Linked DNA regions of Homo sapiens: all the other regions are linked to region 2. The links are contacts of gene promoters, found by promoter capture Hi-C in blood cells and fetal thymus (Javierre and others, 2016). All regions are on one chromosome and are shown on one strand. The core of a region is centred on a gene start or on the middle of the fragment in contact, and the rest is flanking DNA. Distances in the headings are between cores, read along the strand shown. Region 1 has its middle 4.6 kb from the start of CYP8B1. Region 2 holds the start of CCDC13 (coiled-coil domain containing 13). Region 3 has its middle 5.9 kb from the start of ZNF662.

What was found. Contacts are between HindIII fragments. The CHiCAGO score rates a contact against its expected background, and 5 or more counts as called.
Region 1: a contact is called between a fragment that was not itself captured here and the fragment with the promoter of CCDC13 in region 2, in 15 of 17 cell types (erythroblasts, total B cells, megakaryocytes and 12 more). The highest score is 16.8, in erythroblasts.
Region 3: a fragment that was not itself captured here is called in contact with the fragment with the promoter of CCDC13 in region 2 in 1 of 17 cell types (erythroblasts); the score reaches 5.9 in erythroblasts.

Annotation. Positions count from the first base shown.
Region 1 is chr3:42,879,145-42,881,844 of GRCh38, reverse strand. No RefSeq gene overlaps it. Among named protein-coding and RNA genes, the nearest start is that of CYP8B1, 4.6 kb to the right of the region's middle. RefSeq lists a silencer at 486-535 and an enhancer at 574-868. The HindIII fragment of the contact is 4,409 bases long and covers 1-2,700 here.
Region 2 is chr3:42,771,894-42,774,593 of GRCh38, reverse strand. CCDC13 (coiled-coil domain containing 13) reads left to right here and starts at 1,341. Exons shown (of 16, transcript NM_144719.4): 1 at 1,341-1,418. It overlaps CCDC13-AS2 (CCDC13 antisense RNA 2), which reads right to left. Exons shown (of 2, transcript NR_122070.1): 2 at 959-1,389. RefSeq lists an enhancer at 1,161-1,330 and a silencer at 1,461-1,620. The HindIII fragment of the contact is 4,325 bases long and covers 1-2,700 here.
Region 3 is chr3:42,898,896-42,901,595 of GRCh38, reverse strand. No RefSeq gene overlaps it. Among named protein-coding and RNA genes, the nearest start is that of ZNF662, 5.9 kb to the left of the region's middle. The HindIII fragment of the contact is 8,974 bases long and covers 1-2,700 here.

The DNA.
Region 1 (2,700 bases), core at 94-2,593, 110 kb before region 2:
CATAAGCCCTAAGTGAAACGATTATTACCTGCTCTAAAGGCAGGGTGAAATAATTTCTCCCCTGTATTTCCATTTCAATGGTACTACTTACTGCTGGGGGCGAGGCAGTGAGCAAGAGGTGGCACATACTGGGGGAGCAGTCAATATCATCCAGAATTAGAAAAAGGGGCAAACAAGACTCAGGGAAGAGCTAGTGCATCCGGACTAGAGAACCCACAGCGGAGAACCCCAGTAAAGGAACCACAGCAGATAAATAGAATCCTCAGGTCAGTGCCCAGTTGCTCAAAATTCTGGGCCATATATAGAATGAGAAGTCATGACATCAGACAGGAACATGGAACTACTAGGGCCCAGTGTAAAAAACTCAATCCACTGTCCTGCCCACCATGGAATGTGCAAATGAGGTTAGCAATAAAGGAGCTAACCCCCAAAACCCCCCAGGACAACCAAAATGATGCTCTTGCCGGGCTTATGCCGTGAAAACTGCCAGGGGCGTGGGCCGAGGGGTAGTGGTGGGTTCAGCGCGCGAGTCGGAAACAGCTGCGGTGGGGAAGGAAGAAAGCAGCGCCATCAGCACGTCCTCCCGTTGGCCCGGAACCACGCCCTTACTGGGGGCTCAGCCGCCGAACTGACACTCACCGCTCCTGAGCACAAAGAAGGTGCGAAGTGCCGCAGAGCGACCGCCAGAGGTCAGCAACACACTGCCTACTCCCCGCCGCGCCTCCCGGAGACTCCCTCGCTGAGGCTTCGGGGGCCGGAAGTGCACCCGCCCCTTTCCCGAGCGCCCGCGGGCCCTCTGGCTGTCCCGGAGGCCGCCTCCGTGTGTCTTTGGTCCTACCTGGCCCCCTAGCCCACCATCGTAACCCCGCCCCGGCCCCTGACAGTTCCCGGACCGAAGGGGCGAGGAGGGGACGTGCCGCCCGCTCCCGGTGTTGGCTTGAGTTGCTGGTCCCCAGCCCCTCGGGAGGGAGAGGAGGGCAGTCCCGTGGGCTGACTTCCCAGGGGCAAGCCAGTCTCCTCCCGAGGAAGAGCCCGTATTCCCTGCCTGTCCATCCGGCAGCCCTGCGTGGCCCCCGTGGGCTGGCCCCGGACACAAGCGTGGCTGGGCCGGCTGGCGTGAGAGGGGTTCAGTGCCACCGATGTGTCAAAGTCCTAACCCGCACAGAGCCTGCCGGTTCTGCACCCTGTGGAGATTCTTCCCCCTTCTCCGAGTGCCCTGGGCTCATTGGCCCCAGGGTGGATATGCTCTCGGTACCTTGGGACCACCCTGCTGCATCCCCTGACCAGCACCCCTCTTCGGCCGCTAGCACCTCCACCACACACAACACACATTGACTGGGTCTTGTGGTCCTCCAGGCCTCCGCTGAATCAGTGTGGCCCAATCAGTGTGGCCTTCCTGACTGCCACCTCCCTTCATGCTCTGCTCTTCTTTGCAGCATTTGTCACAATTACAGCCATACCGCGAAGATATTGCGGGTTGGGTTTCAAACCTCCATAGTAAAATGAGTCGCACGAATTTTGTTTCCGGGGAATATAAAAATTATGTTTAGACTATACACCATTAAGTGTGCAAAAGCATTATATCTAAAATACATATATATACCTTAATTTTTAAAAAAAACTTTATTGCTAAAAAATGCTAATGATCATCTGAGCCTTCAGTGATTCCTGTCTTCACCCTGGACTGATCAGGGTGGTGGTTGCTGAGGGCTGGGGTGGCTGTGACAATTTCTTAAAATAAGACAACAATCAAGGTTGCCGCACCAGTTGACTCTTCCTTTTAGGAAAGATTTCTCTGTAGCATGGAATGCTGTTTGATAGCATTTTACCCACAATAGAACTTTTTTTCAAAATTGGAGTCAATGCTCTCAAACTCTACTGCTGCTTTACTAACTTTATGTAATATTCTAAATTCTTTATTGTCATTTCAACAGTGTTCCCAGCATCCTCGCCAGGATTAGTTTCCATCTCAAGAAACCACTTTCTTAGCTCATCCGTAAGAAGTTACTCCTCATCCATTCAAGTTCAATCAGGCGATTGCAGCAATTCAGTCACATCCTCTGGCACTACTTCTAATTCTAATTCTCTATTTCCACCCATCTGCAGCGACTTCCTCCACTGAAGCCTTGAACCCCTCAAAGTCATTCATGAGGGTTGGAATCAACTTCTTTCAAACTCTTGTTCATGTTGATATGTTAACCTCCTCCCATGAATCACAATTGTTCTTAGTGGCTCTAAAATGGTGAGTTCTTTCCATAAGGTTTTCAATTTACTTTGCCCAGATCCATTAGAGGAATCGCCATCTACAGCAGCTATAGCCTTACGAAATGTATTTCTGAATACTAAGACTGAAAAGTTGAAATTACTCCTTGATCCATGGGTTGCAGAATGGATGTTGTGTTAGCAGGCATGAAAACAACATTCATCTCTTCGAACATCTTCCTCAGAGATCTCAGGTGCATTGTTAATGAGTAGTAATACATTGAAAAGAATCTTTTTTGTGAGCAGTAAGTCTCAGCAGTGGGCCTAAGTAAACCATGCTGCAAACAGATGAGCTGCCATCCAGGCTTTGTTTTGTTTGTTTTGAGACAGGGTCTCACTCTGTCGTCCAGGCTGAAGTACAGTGACATGATCTTGGCTCACTGCAGCCTCAACCTCCCAGGCTCAGGTGATCCTCCCACCTCAGCCTCCCAAGTAGCT
Region 2 (2,700 bases), core at 92-2,591:
CCCATCGTGGTCATGAGGCAAACGAATGATACTCCCCACTACACACACCATTTAAAAAAAACCCTAATCCTTTGAGGCTCACATCTACCTGAATCCTACTCTTTATCCTGTCTCTCTTTGCTGCCACCTGTATATTATACGTCTCCCACCCTCAGCTCACCAGGCAGCAATTGGAGACCAACGGGAAAGATCCATTTTTCCTTTATCAGGAAACTTCGGGTTTATACCTGCAGTGCTGATGGCAGTCTAGTGCCGTATCTTATGTATGCATGTCTATGGGATGGGTATTCATTCACCTTATGAGGAAAAAAAATAGAAAAACAACTGCCAAGGTTTTCAAATTATGAAGTCCTGGATAAATATTTGGGCAGGAGCTGTGGCTCACGCCTGTAATCCCGGCACTTTAGGAGGCCAAGGTGGGCGGATCACCTGAGGTCAGGAGTTCAAGACCAGCCTGGTCAACATGGTGAAACCCCGTCTCCACTAAAAATAAAAAAATTAGCCAGGTGTGGTGGCGGGTGCCTGTAATCCCAGCTACTCAGGAGGCTGAGGCAGGAGAATCGCTTGAACCTGGGAAATGGAGGTTGCAATGAGCTGAGATCGCACCACTGCACTCCAGCCTGGGCGACACAGCGAGACTCTATCATAGATAGATAGATAGATTAGATAGATAGATAGATAGAAAGAAATCTCCCTTGAATCATCTTTCCTAGAAATTTGCCTCCCACCCCCATATTGCCCTGAAATATAGTAGTGTCTTACATTGGAAGGTGCCATTTAAAAAAAAAAAAACAAGTATTTTCCTTTATGAAAATAAACGATGTTCATTATTTTAAAAATTCTCTAAAGTGTAAAAATAAAAACACAGCACTGCTATTCCACCACCCAAATATAACCACTTTTAATATTTCTATTTCGGTCTTGTTTTAGTGCCTAGTTTGAAATAAACACAACTTTATTTATTTAGCATTGCTATATTGCGTCCTGCTTCCTTCACTCACCATCATAACATGGCCTTTCCCCACACTGTTTTACATTTTTCAAATATATCTGAATGGCTACTTTAAATTTCATGGTGAGATCGTTCGCTTTTTAACTCCCCAACAGGAGAGCGGAATGGGCATCTCTGTGCAGAACGTTTGGTCCACAAAACTTTTTTAAAAATATACTCCAGAAGATTTAAAATCTCCAGCGCACTCGAGATCGTGCTCGCTTGGATCCAGCCCAGCGCGCCATCAGCGCCTCTGTCACTTTCAGAACTCTTGGCGCCCCCTCGGCCCCCGTAGAGTAGCGTTGAAAACGCGCAAGTGACGTCGCTTGTTTCCCTGGTGACGGTTGCCAGGGCAGCGCGTGTCGGCGTCCGGAGGAGGTGACCTAGCCGCCGCGGTCCTAGAAGGGAGAAGTGGAGAGAGACCGCTGTAAGTGCCGGGGAGAGCGGAAGGGCCCGGGCCGGAGCTGGGAAAGCCCGCAGCTGCCGGGGGCGCGGAACCGAGCCCGAGCGCAACCCCAGCCCGAGCGCGCTGCCACTGGCCGGGCGCTCACCGCGTGCTGGGCGCCCAGCGAGGACTCTTCCCCTTCGTCCTTTGAATCTTCACACACAGCCCTCTTCTAACCCAGGCAGACGCTTATTTTCCATGCAGTACATGGGTTAATGAGGCGCAGAGGGTGGGTCGCCTGCCCCAAAGTCATAGCGTAGATGGCACAGTCAGAACTCGAACTCAGGTCCGCCTGACAAGCGCTGTTTGCTGGGCCTCTGCCACTGGGCCCTCTCGCACCGCACTGAAAGATGCGACCCGACGGCGTGCACTTCCGCATCTCCCAGTTCCCCTTCCAGGCCCAGCCCCCACAGGACTGGGGACTCGCAAGAGGGAGTTCCCCTCCAAGCCCGGAGTCCAGCCCTGAGAACCAGAGCATCACCCCGCTCCCATCCCAAACCCATCCCTACGAAGATGCTAGCAGTGCACAGAGCGCCAAACTAGGCATCCGTGGGCGGCCTCCCCACACCTCCAGGCCCCTAGACTGTTGTTGAGAATACTCGAAAAGAACACAGTAAAAGAAAAGAAGAAAGAGAAGGAGAGGGGAAGAGAAAAACAATGAAAAAAGTGGCAGGCCGATGGGGCAAGGGGTCTCAATCCTTCCTCACTGGTCCCTGTCACCTATGGTCCCATATCCTGTGGGATCTTGCTTCCTCATAGGACTCCAGAGTGCATGCCACTCTTCCTACTCCCTGGCTCTAAGTCCTACCTGAGCCAAGAGTTCTTTCCATGCAGCTCTAGCCTTTACTTTATTTTTTTTATTATTACTTTTTTTTTTTTTTTTTTTTTTTGACGGAGTCTCGCTCTATCGCCCAGGCTGGAGTGCAGTAGCGCGATCTTGGCTCATTGCAACCTCTGCCTCCCAGGTTCAAGCGATTCTCCTGCCTTGGGCTCGAGTAGCTGGGATTACAGGCGCCCGCCACCATGCCTGGCTAATTTTGGTATTTTTAGTAGAGATGGGGTTTCACCATGTTGGCCAGGCTGGTCTCAAACTCCTGACCTCAGGTGATCCACCCACCTCAGCCTCCCAAAGTTTTGGGATTACACGCATGAGCCACCACGCCCGGCTTAGCCTTTACTTTTAAAAGAAAATAGACTTAAAGCAGATTTTTAGAAGCATTAAACAAAAAACAGTTCCTTTATGTATTCCGTATTCCCATTTCCT
Region 3 (2,700 bases), core at 38-2,537, 130 kb before region 2:
CCTGGGCACAGGCCAAACTAACTTTGGGAGGAACTTAGTTTATAATTTAACTTTGAAACAAAGATGGTATCAGCCCTTTCCCAAACAAACCCCCTTCCTGCCTGGAGACTAGACTGCCCTTGCAGGACTAAAAAATTAGCCACAAGATTAGAAATTATGGTTTAAGAGTCATGCAGCTGGAGGCTGGAAGATTCTAAACCTCCCCAAATTGTTCCTGGGGATAATATCACTCTTATAAAACCTAAGATCAGTGCTTGAGATGTTTTGCAGAACCTGCACGCAGTGGATCAGCTGGCACCACCCAGACTGGTAAACTGGCCCATCTGGTATTGTGGCCCCCACCCAGGAACTGACTCAACACAAGAGGACAGCTTCAACTCCCTATGATTTTATCTGTGACCCGGCCAATCAGGACTCTCCACTTTCCAACCGCCTACCCACCAAATTATCCTTAAAACCCCAACCCCCAAGTTTTCAGGGTAATTTGAGTAATAATAAAAACCCCAGTTTTCCATATGCTGGCTCTTTATGAATTAAACCCTTTCTTTATTACAACTACCATGTCTTGATAAATCAGCTGTGTCTAGGCAGCAGGCAAGGAGAACCTGTTGGGCGGTTCACCTCTGCCCTGACAACCCAGAGTCTAAGATGTTCTCTTCTTACCAATCAGGGTTGTCGTTCCTCTCATTCCACAGCTACGTGATCAATGTGACTAGTCTCTGCAACAATCACTCCACCTATTTCCCAACTCTCCTGTGTCTTACCCACACCATACACTCAGACTCATCTCTAGTTAGTTCAGTAGTTCCTTTCTTACATAATTTGTAGCATCCTAGAATGTCTCCTACCCTCTGAAATGTGAGCCATGCCAAGACCACCTTAGGAGTTGCCTTCTCATATTTATGATTTATGATCACTATAATCATTATCTATAATTGCCCAAATCCAATTAGCACAGCTGGGTGGCAACACACACACACACACACACACACACACACACGGTGTCAGTCTCCCGCCCCCTGGCTCTTATTTCCTACTGTCAAACTGCAGTAGTTCAGTTTCCCAGGGTTAAGCATAGGAGGGGAAAAAATAGAGAATAATTAATTATGTGCTTATGTCTCTTGCAGTCAGGGCCTTCTCCCACTCCTGAACCTTGTGAAAGTGTTACTGACAGTGAGTCTGCAAACAGTGGCGAATCCGCACTGATCCCAACCCTTGTCTTCTCAGAGGAAAGATTTCAACTGAAAGACCGAGGCAAATTTTAAAGCAGAGGCAAAGGTTTATTAAAAGAAGCAAATCACACTTGGAAGAGGGCCAAGTAGGGAACTTGAGAGATCAAGTGCCCCCCTCAGCCTTTGGCTCAGGATTTTTATAAACTGGCTTTTGGTTCCGGGGTTTTTCTTCTCCTCCCTTGATCCCTCCATTGGGGTGGGCTGTTGCTCAGTTGTGACATGTGCAGTGGCCTGCTAGTACTTGGGAGAAGCCACATGCACAGTGTGTTTACTGAGGTTGTGTGCATGCTCACTTGGAGCGATTTTCCCTTACTGGTTGATCACCTCCAGAGGAAGGTCATATACCAGTCAAACACCACCATTTCCCCCCCTACTTTTGCCCCATGCTTAAGACCAGATCAGGGGCTGGGCACGGTGGCTCACGCCCAGCACTTTGGGAGGCCAAGGCAGGTGGATCATTTGAGGTCAGGAGTTCAAGACCAGCCTGGCCAACATGGCAAAACCTTGTCTCTACTAAAAATTTTAAAAAATTAGCCAGGTGTGGTGGCAGGTGCCTGTAATCTCAGCTACTGGGGAGGCTGAGGCAGGAGAATCACTTGAATCCGGGAGGCAGAGGTTGCAGTGAGCCGAGGTCGTGCCACTGTACTCCAGCCTGGGTGACAGAGTGAGACTCCACCCCAAACAAAACAAAACAAAACAAAAACAAACAAAAACCTGATCAGGGAATTGTGATTTGCTGGCTCCAGATGTTTTCTATCTGTTGCAGAACTCCTCTCTGTCTTGGTCCCAGTCATGGCCACTTCTCATTTCAGAGGGACAGTTTTATGATAGCTTGACCATTACCCAATGAGTGCCTGCCATTTCCAGAACCCTCTCTACTGCCACCTCCTGGGTCAAGTGAATGGCCTCTAGTAGCTCTAAGATTTGGGGCCCCTACTTAGTAGGAGTATCCCAAGTTGCTGGGTACTCCCTTTCCTTCCAGATAGTGGCTTGGGCATGAAGCACCAAAAAGGCATATTTGGAATCTGTATAAATGGTTATTCTTTTCCCTTCCCCTAGTGTTAGGCCTGTGGTTAAAAGATGAGTTTTGCTAGTTGTCCTGAGGTCCCCAAGGATAGAGCTTTAGCCTCTGTGTACCCTGCATATATAGTTTCATTCTGAACAAAACTGCTCCCATCTGAAAACCATATTTTGACCAGATTGTCCAAGGGCTGATCCTTTAAGTCTTCCCATCTGGCATAAATTTGGTTAAGTATCTCACAACATGAATGTGTTGAGTCATCCTCTCCTGGTAATGGCAGTAAGGAGGCTGGGATGAGGGTGGAGCACCACTCAACTGTTACCTGTGGGATTTCTAACAACACTTGATACTTTAGCAATCTGTTGTCAGTGAGCCATTGTGGCACTTTTATGTCCAGTAAGGGGCTTATTTGTTGGACATCAGGAGCTGGATTGATTGTATCATGGT